Regions from separate parts of the Homo sapiens genome. Here all the other regions are linked to region 1. The links are contacts of gene promoters, found by promoter capture Hi-C in blood cells and fetal thymus (Javierre and others, 2016). All regions are on one chromosome and are shown on one strand. The core of a region is centred on a gene start or on the middle of the fragment in contact, and the rest is flanking DNA. Distances in the headings are between cores, read along the strand shown.

Region 1 (4,660 bases), core at 1,251-3,750:
CAAGTAGCTGGAATTACAGGCAGCCACCACCACGCCTGGCCAATTTTTGTATTTTTAGTAGAGATGGGGTTTCGCCACTTTGGCCAGGCTGGTCTCCTGACCTCAAGCGACCCGCCCACCTCAGCTTCCCAAAGTGCTGGGATTACAGGCGTGAGCCACCACACCCGGCCCAAAATACTCCTTTTTGATGCCTGCCTAAAGGTGGCTAATGGACTGGCTTTGCAGTGTAACTCAGATCCTGGGGTTAAAACTTTCGCCAAAATCCATTGTTCTATAAATAAGCCAAACGACTTCCATTGACCAAGCACTCTGACTTCCCAAACACTGCCAAGAACACATCCAGCTGACCACCTGGTATAAATGTTTAATAGCCAAACCCAAATGTCTAAAGCCTGCTTACTCAGCAGTCCACTAAGGCATATGTACAGGTTCAAAAGCAACAATATGGCATGTGACAGGGTCACCTGGCAGGTTAACCAGGCACCGAAAGTATGAGCCACCCATATGTGTGGATTCGTCCTAACGCTGTCAGCCCACCGGGTCCTGAGTCCTCTCTCTGGTGACAAGTGGGAAGGGTGTGAGAACTGGAGACTGTCCACATGTGGCTTCATCTAAAAGGTATGACCAGAGGCATTACTGACATCCCAGGGGATTCCTGACCCTAGCTGACAGGTGCCCCAGTTAAAACACACCCCAAAGCTAGGGCTGCTGGAACAGAAAACAGCTCCCCTCAAAGGTCTGCAGCAGCCCCTCTGCAGGCACACCGCCTCAGGCTACATATCCTCAAATTCAGGGGATCTTGGAATAACTCGTGCATTGCACAATCCCACTAACAAGTGCGGAAAATTAAGTTACTTTAAAATTACAAACTTGGGCCAGGCGCGGTGGCTTCCCAGCACTTCGGGAGGCCGAACTGGGCGGATCACTTGAGGTCCGGAGTTCGAGACCAGCCTTGACCAACATGAAGAAACCCCGTCTCTACTAAAAATACGAAATTAGCCAGGCGTGGTGGCGCACGCCTGTGATCCCAGCTTTTCGGGAGGCTGAGGCAGGAGAATCGCTTGAACCTGGGAGGCAGAGGTTGCGGTGAGCCGAGATCACGCCATTGCACTCCAACCTGGGCAACAAGAGCGAAACTCCGTCTCAGGAAAAAAAAAAAAATTACAAACTTGAAGATTTAAGCCAACCTTTCATCACACTTGTGTTCACGTGCATATTTTTCCATTGTAAATATGACACAACCCAAAACCTTCTAATCCCATTGTTTTTGAAATCTACCTTGAGACTGTTACAGTCTAAAGGACACCTCATGAGTACAACTACCTCATCTGCCTCTCATCTTGCCAGCATCTTAATCCTGTGTGACTTTCTCTACATTCACCTAAACTTAACCCTTGCTCATTTGCACTCAGTCACCGCTCCAAGGCCAAGGGGAACCGTTCAGAGAGAACCCCCAGCGGGAGGGCAAGCCCCACTCCTAGCCGGGCCACTCCCCCGCTCCACACGGCATTTGGGTCTTTCTGACATTTTCCCCCACGAATGCAAGACACCGGGGCAGCCTCTGAGGGGGCAGCCAGACAGCCCCGGACCGGGCTGCGGAAGAAAGAGCGTGGCCTTTGTTTACTGCGGTGACCTTAGGCGTAGAGGAAGCCGACGCCCGCTTCGCGGCCCCAGCCCTACCCCCTCCCCTCCCACGGCCCGCTGCCCCCACCCCCGCCCTGCCCCTCCCCCAGGCCCGCCTCCCCACGCCCCACCCAGCCCTTCCCGAGTCCGCTCCCCACGACCCTGCCCCTACCCAGGTCGGCTCCCCAGAGACCATGCCCCACCCCGGGTCAGCTCCCCTATCCCCTCCTTCCCCAACCCTCCCCTCTCCAGACCCTGCTCCCCCGACCTGGTCCTGCCCCTCCCCCACGTCCGCTCCCCACTGCCCTCCCCACCCCTGGCCGCGCTAGCCTAGTGGCCGTTGGGTTCTGGCCACGATCCGGCGGTGCCGGGACTTGCGCGGAGACCCCGCGGGGGCCACCACTTCCTTCCGCGATCGCGCTTGGTCTTGGCAGCCGCAGGGCCCGGGTCTTCGGGCGGCGGGCGGGGGCGGCGGGGCCTCACCGAGATAGATGTCTCCGAAGGAGCCGCTGCCGATCTTCCGGCCCAGCCGGTACCTGTTCCCGACTCTCAGCTCCATGGCGGCGGCGGCCCGATTCGCTCCTGCCCTCCCGGCCGCTTCCTGGGTCTGAACTCTGGGAGGCGGCGCCGCTGCTGCCGCTACTGCGGGTCCGGCTCCCGGCTCCGCCCCCCTCACGGCCCCGCTTTCACCATCGCTTTCCTGTCGCCCCGCCGCTCCCAGCGCCTCAATACGGGGCGGATGGGACAGTCCGAGCGCCGCCGCCGCTGCTCCGGCCCCTACCGGTCCCGCTTGCCCTCTCCCCGCCGCGGATGGACTCGGATCTTCCGGGCCTAAATCCCCTTTCAGCTGCCTAAAGGAGCCGCCGCCATCGCGCTGTGACGTCACTTCCCCTAGCAACCCGGCGGGGCGGGGCCGCGGCGCTCCAGGGGCGGGGCCGGGCGGGGCGAGCGCTCCAGGCCTCCTCCCGACCCTGCGCCGTGCCCAGCCCCTCTGCCCTCCTGTTACCCCGGGACCTCGGGCCGCCAGCCCCTTCCACGTGCAGGCTCCTGCTGCTCTCGCGGGGGCTTTTCGTGTGTCCCCCGAGATGTCGAGGAAGCCAGGTGAGTTCCTCGCGACAGGCGGTGCCCTTTGCAGGAGGGGACAGGTAGCTGAGGCGTGGACAGAGTGACAGGCCAGGCTCAGGGGACACAGGTGAGACCCCCTCACTGGGCTGCCAGTTCCCGGGCTTGGGGCATCCCAGTACGTCAGCGTCTGCGGCCTTACCTCCTGACACCTAAGGCCAGAGACAGAGCAGGCCCGCGCCCTGGGAGGTCCTGATGTCCAGCCTGAAGATTGAGGACAAAGCCACCACCTTTCACAAAATGAGGCCAGACCACCTGCCTCCCTCCAGTCCCTGCGGCCTGGAGACGGAGTCAACATTCTTATCTGTGTTGGATCTGAATGTTCCTCCTTGCAAAGGAAACAAGGAGTGGACGTTCAGGCTGATGGCCAGCTTCAAAGATCGGGGCCTTTGATTCCCATCACTGGGAAGAAAGCCCTTCAGACAAGCCCCCCCAGGCTGCAGGTGCATGGGGACCTTGAAGAACCCGTCCCCATGGTCCCACGTCCATGTGTCTCGAGACCTGTCGCATCCTCGCTGAAACTCAAGAATGTGAAACAGGTGAAGGTGTGTTTTGACGCATTAGCATACCAGGGCTGTGGTGTGGGCACCGCCGTGTGAGTGAGACAGCAGCCTCAGCCCGTCCAGGTCACTGCAGAAGAGGAAAGCAGCCCCCACAGGCCCCACAGTGGTGCTCGCCTTTCTCCACCCCCCAGTCTTTCCTCTCCACCCCTCAGCTCCAAACAGCTGGAGGTCAGGTCGGGGAGACGGGCGTCCATTCCCGAAATTACATAGCAGGGCCTGGAGACAGGAGATGCCGCCGGCCAGACCACCATCAGTCACTAATGAGGGATGGGCAGTCGGAACTGCCCAGTTTCTGAGTTACAGAAGCCGGGGGTGGGGGGCTGCCAGACTAGTAAAACTGACCTTGTTGGCGGAATCGCTCACGGCTTTTCTGTTGATGAACAGAGTCCAGCTCTCCCACGGGTGGCTGTGATCCTTCTTCCTGGGGAGTCCTGCTGTCCCTGACTAGGGGCACCTGCCCACCTGTCAGCTGCTCCTCCCTCGGCTGGTCCTCCTGGGCTCTGATGGCCCCAACATTTCTAGCTCTTCTCACCCATAGTGCCCCAAGCTTCATGCAGCTGCGGCAGGTACTGTGCCCGTCTGCCTGGCTTTTGTGTGTTTGTGTCTTGACTCTATAACCCGTGCACACGGACTGGGCTGTGGTGTAGTGGGGATGGCAGGAGCCCTGGGAACATGCGGGCTGGGCAAGGTGAGGCAGGCTGATTGCTGTGGCTCCCCCACCACCAGCCCCAGCCACAACAAACTGACAAAGGAAGAGGACAGTGGTACCCTGGAGCCCTGGGGTCAGAGAGAGGAGGACAAAGCAGGTGTGTAGCCCAGGGAATGACAGCACCCCTTCCGAGAAGACAGGGAGGGTGCAGACATGGCCAGGTTCTGAGCTAGAAAACTGTCAGCAGGGGGCTGAAGCTGAGGATAGTCATTGCCAAGGAACAGCCTCCGTCACAGAGGAGACGCACAGATGCGGTGACGAGGGAGGGATGCGGGGCTGGTGACCGCTGGGAACGGATGTGTGAGGCAGAGTCTCCAGGCATGGTCTGTGGGGCGGTTTGATGATACTAGAACATCTCAGAGTAGAAGGACGTCCCGACCTGCAGACTGGAAAGCCCCCAGAGCTCCCGGCAGGACGTATGAGGGCCAGCCCACACCCAGGTCTGTCCTGATACAACTGAACGCCACAGTGTCTTAGCTCCTTTACTGTTGCTATCAAGAAACACCTGAGGCTGGGAAATTTATGAAGAATCATGAGGTAATTTGTATATTTGTCCACACTAAACCTCATGTTGAATTGTAAACCCCAAGGCTGGAGGTGGCTGGGTCATGGGGGTGGATTTCTCAGGAATGTTTAGTACCAT
Region 2 (4,660 bases), core at 1,001-3,500, 300 kb after region 1:
CCTATGAACAGGACAAGGCTTTCTTGCTAAAGAGGGTGGCTGGATAAAGGCCTGGCCTCAGTTTTGGGGGGGCCCAAGTCAGGACAGGTCTTTTGGGGAGCAGAGCCCTTGGAGCAAGGCTCTCCTGGACCACAGTCGTGAAGTGGCGAGGACCCCACGGGACCCCTCATGCATGCCCTGCTTTCTGTCGTCTATTGCAGGTGCCTGCACAGCTCACGTCGGCAGGGAATGACAGACTAGCACACGTCAGGCACCCTTCTCTGCTGAACTGCTATTAAACTTGTTTCTGTTGAAACATTTTCTCTCCTGTCTAGATGGAGGTCTGTAAGTCTACAGCTGCATCTCTTTCCCCAGTAAGGCCACTCCTGTGTCATTTCATGCCTCGTGGCTCCAGCTAATTAAGCGGGAGAGGGATTAGTTTCTCCAGATTCCTCCTAGTTCATGGACATTACTCTCTCTCTTTTTTTTTTTTTTTTGAGATAGAGTTTTGCTCTTGTTGCCCAGGCTGGAGTGCAATGGCGCGATCTCGGCTCACTGCAACCTCCGCCTCCCAGGTTCAAGCGATTCTCCTGCCTCAGCCTCATGAGTAGCTGGGACTACAGGCTTGAGCCACCACACCCGGCTAATTTTGTATTTTTAGCAGAGACGGGGTTCCTCCATGTTGGTCAGGCTGGTGTTGAACTCCCGACCTCGGGTGATCTGCCTGCCTCGGTCTCCCGAAGTGCTGGGATTACAGGCGTGAGCCACCGCGCCTGGCCAATGTACTTTGAATTTCTTTCTGTCCTCAGCTGTACCCTTGGCTGTCAGAATACTGACCCTCACGGGCTCTTCCTGTGCCATGAGATTCTCTGAGCCGCCCTTCCCAGTGCCTCAGACCTTATTCTGACTTCCTCCCTCCTGGCTTACAACAAAAGCCAGGTGTTTTGTATTGTCTACCTATGGTATAGCTTTTTGGTCAATCCACAGAGGACATCTGAGGGTGAAATGAGATGGTCTGAGGAATCCTATTTGAAAAGATGCCATATGTCTTTCTTTTGTTTGCATTTACGTCCTATGATTTGATTTTTTCATGGTACAAAAGTATTTAATAAGTGACACTTCAGTACAGAAAACACAGAGCTTGTAGCTTGTCCTTTAAAACCAGGACGGCCAAGTGAAAAGTCAGTACAGAGTCTTATTTTTACTATTAAACAAATCAAAGGGACACACTGGGCATTGAACTACTATGCTTTTTCTTCTTTCTAGAGATGACATACGTGTTTTCTGATAAGTAATGTACCACACATTGCACTAAAGCAAAGCAGCAAACAGCCAGTAAAGCTGTGCCCTGCCTGCTGCTCCTGCCGGGCTGGACCAGTGGAACACCATCTCGGTAGGAGAGGAAGAAAATGCAGAGTCCCTAACCCAGAGAGCCTAACAAACTGGTTTATACCGAAGTGATCTTCAGCAAACACGCAAACACACTAACATGCTGTAAGAATGTTTTAGTCTATTTCTAGCACACAGCATAAATTCGTAGGTGCCCAGTCAAATAGGAAGGAACGCCATTGTAGAAAGCATTTTTGCCTTCACAGCACTAACACCTAAAAAGCACACGGCATATAGTACTTTGATCTTTAAGTGGATAAGCATGGAAGTCCCAAGATCATATCCACTAGATTAGCCTGAGTATTCATCTATAAAAATATATATTTTTAAAATAATGCTTAAAAGAGACTTCTAGAAACAGTGGGACTACATCAGGAGCAGAAGACAGCGACACAAGGACTGCAAATGTTAAGACTAGGAGTGGCTTTTCACGTGGAACTTTTATGTAGAGGACGTCTCTTTCTGTTGATTGCTACAGCCGAGACAAGCTGTGATCACAGGAGATTCTGAAATCTCAAGCTGGGCTTGAGTAACACCCTAGATAGACATCAGGAACCCCATTGAGGCTGAAGTACTGAAACTGACCCATGTGAAGAAGAGATAAAGAGATGCAGATGCGCAAAGATTCACGCAGAGCCTGCTGGGACAGAGGGTGGCGGCGGGTTCATCCACACGTCCACACCAGCGTGTGTGCTTGGGTGGCGGCGGCGGGTTCATCCACACCAGCGTGTGTGCTCGGGTGGCGGCGGCGGGTTCGTCCACACGTCCACACCAGCGTGTGTGCTCGGGTGGCGGCGGCGGGTTCGTCCACACCAGCGTGTGCTCGGGTGGCGGCGGCGGGTTCGTCCACACCAGCGTGTGTGCTCGGGTGGCGGCGGCGGGTTCGTCCACACCAGCGTGTGTGCTCGGGTGGCGGCGGCGGGTTCGTCCACACCAGCGTGTGTGCTCGGGTGGCGGCGGCGGGTTCGTCCACACCAGCGTGTGTGCTCGGGTGGCGGCGGCGGGTTCGTCCACACCAGCGTGTGTGCTCGGGTGGCGGCGGCGGGTTCGTCCACACCAGCGTGTGTGCTCGGGGAAGGACCCCCCAAGTGGAGTGCTGGACATGGGCTCGCTCCAGAGGCGTCTGACTCAGAAGCTCCTGAGAGAAGTGTCTCCTTGAGGAGGGGAGGAATACTACGGTTAATGAATACAAGAAGGTGTTTCAGGAGAAATAGGTCTAGGAGGGTTAAGTCATTTTGGTTTTGACCTGTCAATACTTAACATAAATGAAGAATTACAAAACAGAGTCAGTCTTTTTCCAAGATGTATTCTGTCATCATGAGCTGAGCCTGTTGGGCTGGTGACATCCAGAATGTTCCAATTCATTGGCTGGAGGGAGGACCCAGTGCCGCAGATTGTTCTGGGAAGCTGGCACAGAAGATGATTGACACAACGAAGTCACCACTAAGCCACTGCTTAAGTCTAGTCCTCGGCCTTCTTTTTCTGCTCTGTAGTCCAAAACCGTGAACGTAGCAGCATGTCGAATATGTCACCAGCTGCTTCATTTTTATGGTGCTGTAATGTGGTGGTGAAAGCTGCCATGTTGAATCCAGAAATCCGCTCCAGCAGCTGTTCTTCAATATATTTTTCTACCAAAAAAATGTATGCAGGCTGGGTGCGGTGGCTCACGCCTGTAATCCCAGCACTTTGGGAGGCTGTGGCCGGCAGATCACCTGTGGTTGGAGGGTTCGAGACCAGATGACCAACACGGAGAAACTACATCTCTACTAAAAATACAATATTATTAGCGGGGTGTGGTGGTGCGTGCCTGTAATCCCAGCTACTCAGGAGGCTGAAGCAGGAGAATTGTTTGAACCCACATGGCGGAGACTGCGGTGAGCTGATACCGCGTCATTGCACTCCAGCCTGGGCAACAAGAGCAAAACTCCGTCTCAAAAAAAGAAAAAGAAAAAAAGAAATGTATTCATTAAAAATAGGTGTGTAGGTGAGTTTATTCTCTTCCGTGTCTTCAAACTCCAGGTAGTACTTGTCCATGTAATTTCTCTGTAATAACTGGAACTCGTTATCCATGATAACGTTCTCTAAATATCCAACCACAACAGCAAATTCATCAGAGGTGGAGGAGAAAGACAGCACAAAGCTCTCTTCTTCTAAGGTGTCCATCACTGCAGCCCCGAGCAGGCTCCTACCCCGCCTGTGGCCCAACCTGCATGCAGGGCGTGGCGGGCGGCCGGGTTAAGGTCTCGCAGCCAAAGCTGCGGCGTGCTCACTGCCCAGTCAGGGCAGCACCTGCGTGCCAGGCCCAGCCCTGGGTTAGGGCCCCGCCGGGCCCTCTGTGCATACCGCCGACACTGCGGGCCAAGGTCTCGGTGACTCCAAAATGATTTTTATGGTTTTATGATTTTACTTCACCCAGAATTGAGATAATTGTTGTGACTATGAGAAGTTTGAAAGGACGGGCCTCTCAGCCTCCAAAGGGACTAGAGCTGGTTCCTTTTATTTATTTTTGTTTTATTTATTTTTTTGGGGACAGAGTCTTACTCTGTTGCCCAGGCTGGAGTGCAGTGGCGCGATCTCAGCTCACTGCAACCTTTGCCTCCTGGGTTCAAGTGGTTCTCCATTCTCAGCCTCCTGAGGAGCTGGGACTACAGGTGCATGCCACCATGCCCGGCTAATTTTTGTGTTTTTACTAGGGATGGGATTTTGCCATGTTGGCCAGGCTGGTCTCGAACTCCTGACCTCAAGTGATCCACCCGCCTCGGCCTCCCAAAGTGCTGGGATTACAGGCGTGAGCCACCGCACCCGTCACTTGATCTCTTTTAAAGGGAGGACTGTACTCTGGACTCACCCTCACCCTTGCACTTTTGGAAGCGTTCCTGGACATTAGACCCATCCTCTGAAAGGAACTTGTCCTGTTCCTTCTCCTCAGTTTCTGTACACGTCCTTACTGTGCAGAGTGCACACGGGAGCGCACTCAGGGCTGGGTGAGGAAACAGACAAACCGTCCTTGAGAAACGTGAGGTCTGCTTAGGAAGGCTGCAGGAAGGCACAGAGGAGAGCCCCGGAAGGGAGGGAGCTGGTGCTCAGGGAGGGCTGATTTTCAGCAGACGCTCAATTTGGAAAGCCTTTGGGGGAAAGGTAATTGCTCAGAATTGCAAATCCTTTTCTTCATGTTTAGCGTTAAAGAATAACAGCCCACGTTTTCTCTGAAAGCTTTAAAATTTCTGAATCATTAGAGTCCAGTCAATGTGGTTTTAATACATGTAGCAACAGAATGAAGGAACATCCATCC
Region 3 (4,660 bases), core at 1,486-3,985, 260 kb after region 1:
TCGGAACGGAGCTACTAGGAAAGTCTGGTGTGTTTCCGTATTGAAGGGCTGCAAGGTGGCTGAAATGCCTTCGTTTTGCGACCTGAAACTCCTGACAAGCTTGTGAGTGGAGCTGAGCCTGGGACACAGGAGTTGGCATGTGTTGGCATAAATAAAGGGATGTTCATAGCAGAGGGCAAATGGCGCTTTGCACTTTGAAAAGTGTTCAGTGTACAAATCAGTTGCCTTTAATAACTACTCTGTATTTAAGCTCCGCCTCCTGGGTTCAAGCGATTCTCCTGCCTCAGCCTCCCGAGGAGCTGGGATTACAGGCATGCACCACCATGCTGGCTAATTTTTGTATTTTTGGTAGAGATAGCTTTTAAAGAAATTTTGGCTGGGCCCGGTGGCTCTTGCCTGTAATCCCAGCACTTTGGGAAGCCGAGACAGGTGGATCATCTGAGGTCAGGAGTTCGAGATCAGCCTGGCCAACATGGCGAAACTCCGACTCTACTAAAAATACAAAAATTAACTGGGCATGGTGGCGGATGCCTGTAATCCCAGCAACTCAGGAGGCTGAGGCAGGATAATCACTTGAACCCACAGGGTGAAGGTTGTGGTGAGCTGAGATGGCGCCACTGTACTCCAGCCTGGGTGACATAGCAAGACTTTGTCTCAAAACCGAAGATATTCATTTGGCAAATTGAGATACATTGTTATCACTGATTTGTAGACACAGAACACATTGCAGCTATTTTAGCATAATTGTTACTTTAAGTTAAAAACCCAGTAACCAACTTACTTCTGCCTCACCTTAGTGTTTAGTACTTCTTCCAGTGGTAAAACTCTGTGTTCCTTTTATTTTATTATTTAGAGTCTCACTCTGTCACCCAGGCTGGAGTACAGTGGCACCATCATAGCTCACTGCAGCCTTGAACTCCTGGACTCAAGCGATCTTCCCACCTCAGTCTCCCGTGTAGCTGAGAGTACAGGCCTGCATGGCCATTCAGGGCTAATTTATTTTTTTTTGGACGTGGGGTCTCGCTATGTTGCCCAGGCTGGTCGCAAATTCCTGTCCTCAAGCAGTCCCCCCACCTCAGTCTGCCAAAGTGCTGGGATTACAGGTGCGAGCCACCCTGCCTGGCCTATACATGTTTTCAAGTGCTGATCATTTATTAATAGTGAAGTGATTGTAGTCAGGCGTGGCTCCCCCATTTACTGGCAGGTCCCATTTAGACCTGCGGTTGCAGAAGTACAGCACAGCTCTGTGCATGATTGGTGGAAATATTCCAGGAGATGAGGCTGTTACAGTAACAGCAGATTTTTCCATTGTGAAAATGTAACTATTCCTGCTTTGTTGAAGAGAAAGATTTTTTTGGAAAATGAAGAAAAGAGGATTTCTAAATTAAGGAAGCTTTTAGTGAAAGCAGTTGGCATTTGGGTAGTAGTATTCTTATCTGTTTAACATTTTTGTGGGGCTCTTGTTTTCTTTTATGTTTGGTTTTTGGAGCAATTTATAATATCTTAAATAATGACAGTCATAGTAAATCAACCTCCACACTTTTTCATGAGGAATTTTTGAATTTGCTGCTAAAATGCAGTACAGGAGGGCATGTTTAAGGCACACATTACCATCTCTACAATGTGAAGCGGGCTTTGAGCACGGAACAAGGTGTTACAGCTGTACCTAGGAAGTGGTGGCAGGGAGACCAGAAAGTACCTCGTGCCAGAGCCACAGCCCCTGCGGCCCTGCTTTCCTCGTGCACGTCAGTTTAGAGTGCACATTGGGCTTCAAACGCCTCTGCTGATTTGTTAGGAACAGAGAAGGTGCTCTGCTGAGAATTCCGTAGATTTCTAGACAGTATTTGGTTTTTGCTGCAGTTTGTCATTTGAGATGGAATGCTTGTGTTCTTTGTCCTGTGAAGGGCATTGGAGTACGACACCGGGGTGAGTCTGCCTCCTTCCCCTCCCTGGGACGTATGACAGTGTCTGGAGGCACATTTGGTTGGCATAGACTGGGAGGACGGGTGCTACTGGCATCTAGTGGACAGAGGCCAGGGATGCCACTGAAAAATCTTACAACGCACAGGACGCAGGAGGGGAGAGCCGCCTGTTGCGTAGCAACCTGGCAGCTGATAATATAATAAAAGTTGGTTATGACTCTTGGTCCTACTGGTGGTAAGTTTTAATAATTTTTTTTACAGATGATTCCTGCTTAAAACCTTTATGCTACCAAAGCATCTGTTCAAATTATACTTGAAAGCGCCTTTTTTTTTTTTTTTTTTTTTTGAGACAGGGTCTTGCTCTGTTTCCCAGGCTGAAGTGCAGTGGTGTGATCTTGGCTCATTGCAGTGTCCACCTCCCGGGTTCAAGCGATTCTCCTGCCTCAGCCTCCTGAGTAGCTGGAATTACAGGCACGTGCCACCACGCCGGCTAATTTTTTTTTTTTTTTTTTCAAGATGGAGTTCTGCTCTGTCGTCCAGGCTGGAATGCAGTGGCACGATCTTGGCTCACTGCAACCTCCGCCTCCCAGGTTCAAGTGATTCTCCTGCCTTAGCCTCCTGAGTACCTGGGATTACAGGCGCGTGCCCACTCCCAGCTAATTTTTGTATTTTTAATAGACAGGGTTTCACCATGTTGGCCAGGCTGATCTCGGACTCCTGACCTCAGGTGATCCGCTTGCCTCGGCCTCCCAAAGTGCTGGGATTACAGGCGTGAGCCATGGCGCCCCACCTGAAAGTGCCTTTTGTAAAACAGAGCCTGGAGGTTGAGACTCATTGCGGAGTCACTAGATAACTCCTCCCTTTGCAGCTTTGAAAGGACACTCTCGGAATGCAGTTCTGTCTTGCTATCCCTGGTTGTAAGAAGATACAACTAGGTCCCTTAAGGCAGTAGTAGCCTAACATTGTTACGTTTGTAATGTGTTCTCTTAGTCGTATTTATTGACTTAATTAGGCTGATACAGATATTCTGAGAACTAGGAATACCTTAGTTACATTGATACAGATATTCTGAGAACGTTTATCTTTAGTGGGAAAAAAGACAATGAGCTGTAGCTGAATTGTTCCAGTTTTTTGTGTTCCTGGTTCCACTGGAGAATGAACTGATGATGTGACGTCATTGTTAGCACAGCCACGCTGGGAAAGATGGCTCTCAAGGTGCTGTTTTTAATGGTGTTTAGTCATTAATAATTGGCAGTAAGAAAACTCATCTTTTGACTTTCATTTGGACAGATGGAATATAGAAAACCTGAAATAGGCCGGGCACGTTGGGTCACGCCTGTCATCCCAGCACTTTGGGTGGCTGAGGCAGGCGGATCTCCTGAGATCGGGAGTTCGAGACCAGCCTGACCAACATGGAGAAACCCTGTGTCTACTAAAAATACAAAATTAGCTGGGTGTGGTGGCGCATGCCTCTAATACCAGCTACTCGGGAGGCTAAGGCAGGAGAATCACTTGAACTCCAGCCTGGGCAACAAGAGTGAAACTCCATCTAAAAAAAAAAAAAAAAAAAAAGAGAGAGAAAACCCGAAATAAGGAAATTTAAAACTACTGATGTGTTTTTTTTTTTTTTTTTTGAGACAGAGTCTCGCTCTGTCACCCAGGCTGGAGTGCAGTGGCGCCATCTCAGCTCACTGCAACGTCCTCCTCCCGGGTTCAAACAATTCTCCTGCCTCAGTCTCCCGAGTAGCTGGGATTACAGGCGCCACCACCACGCTCTGCTAATTTTTGTATTTTTAGTAGAGACGGGGTTTCACCATGTGGGCCAGGCTGGTCTCAAACTCCTGACTGCAGGTGATTCCCCTGTCTTGGCCTCCCAAAGTGTTGGGATCACAGGCCAAAGTGTGAGTCACTGTGCCCGGTCTACTGTTGTGTTTTCAAAGTGGCTTTTTTGGTCTTGTATTTTTCAGAATACGATAGCATTTTGAGTATATAGAGAATGTTTTAAAAATTCTGTGTTTTTGCCATTTCTGAGCTGTTGGAGGATGTTAGGATAATGAACATCATTTTGATAGCCATTTGAGCTGGGTGGAAGAAGATGTGGTTTAAATATAAAATGTCTGTTCTGGGTCCTCCTTGAGGACCTGTTCCCACTTTGCCAAGCTTCCCCCTGGACTTGTCCACACGTGATTAAACACAGCTGAAATCCTGTACACTTGAGTGAACTGCATGTAAGTGTTCTGTGGGCTGGGCTGATTCATCTTTACATTGTACACTTCCTGGGGTTGTAGCCTTTGACCCCTGGGTGACCTCCTCCAGGAATTCTGGGTACTCGATAGGACTCAAATGTTTATTGCTGAATTGGTTGGATGTGGGCTTCTGAGTTTGGATTGGGTGACTACTGTACCATAGGAAACCATGTAAAACAGTTATAAATGTAAGTCAGATTAAATTCACTTCTGATTCTACAGTTGCTCCCACTTTTTTTTGTTTTTGTTGATGGTAGACTCCCCAAAGTGACTTTTTTGGCCTTGTACAGTCATGCATCACTTAACTGTGGAAATCATTCTGAGAAATGCATTGTTAGGTGATTTCATTGTTGTGCGAACATCATAGAGCATACTTGTACAAGCCTAGATGACACAGCCTGCTGCACACCCAGGCTGTGTGTATATCCTGTTGCGCCTACAGCCACATGCTGCACAAACTTAAGCAACATGTGACTGTATTGAATGCTGTAA

What was found. The method cuts DNA at HindIII sites, captures the fragments that hold promoters and counts their contacts. A CHiCAGO score of 5 or more calls a contact.
Region 2: a fragment that was not itself captured here is called in contact with the fragment with the promoter of CSNK1D in region 1 in 1 of 17 cell types (activated CD4 T cells); the score reaches 5.7 in activated CD4 T cells.
Region 3: a contact is called between a fragment that was not itself captured here and the fragment with the promoter of CSNK1D in region 1, in 1 of 17 cell types (activated CD4 T cells). The highest score is 5.1, in activated CD4 T cells.

The regions. Positions count from the first base shown.
Region 1 is chr17:82,271,200-82,275,859 of GRCh38, forward strand. CSNK1D (casein kinase 1 delta) reads right to left here and starts at 2,501. Exons shown (of 9, transcript NM_001893.6): 1 at 2,107-2,501. The coding sequence starts at 2,182. It overlaps LOC124904089 (a long non-coding RNA gene), which reads left to right and starts at 2,579. Exons shown (of 2, transcript XR_007065953.1): 1 at 2,579-3,874. RefSeq lists silencers at 1,901-1,950, 2,001-2,190, 2,431-2,640. The HindIII fragment of the contact is 9,296 bases long and covers 1-3,853 here.
Region 2 is chr17:82,573,862-82,578,521 of GRCh38, forward strand. The region is part of intron 4 of FOXK2 (forkhead box K2); the gene reads left to right. It also overlaps the pseudogene ARL2BPP9. Among named protein-coding and RNA genes, the nearest start is that of FOXK2-AS1, 12 kb to the right of the region's middle. The HindIII fragment of the contact is 4,658 bases long and covers 1-4,579 here.
Region 3 is chr17:82,526,973-82,531,632 of GRCh38, forward strand. All of the region lies in intron 1 of FOXK2 (forkhead box K2), which reads left to right. Among named protein-coding and RNA genes, the nearest start is that of FOXK2, 9.6 kb to the left of the region's middle. The HindIII fragment of the contact is 2,689 bases long and covers 1,392-4,080 here.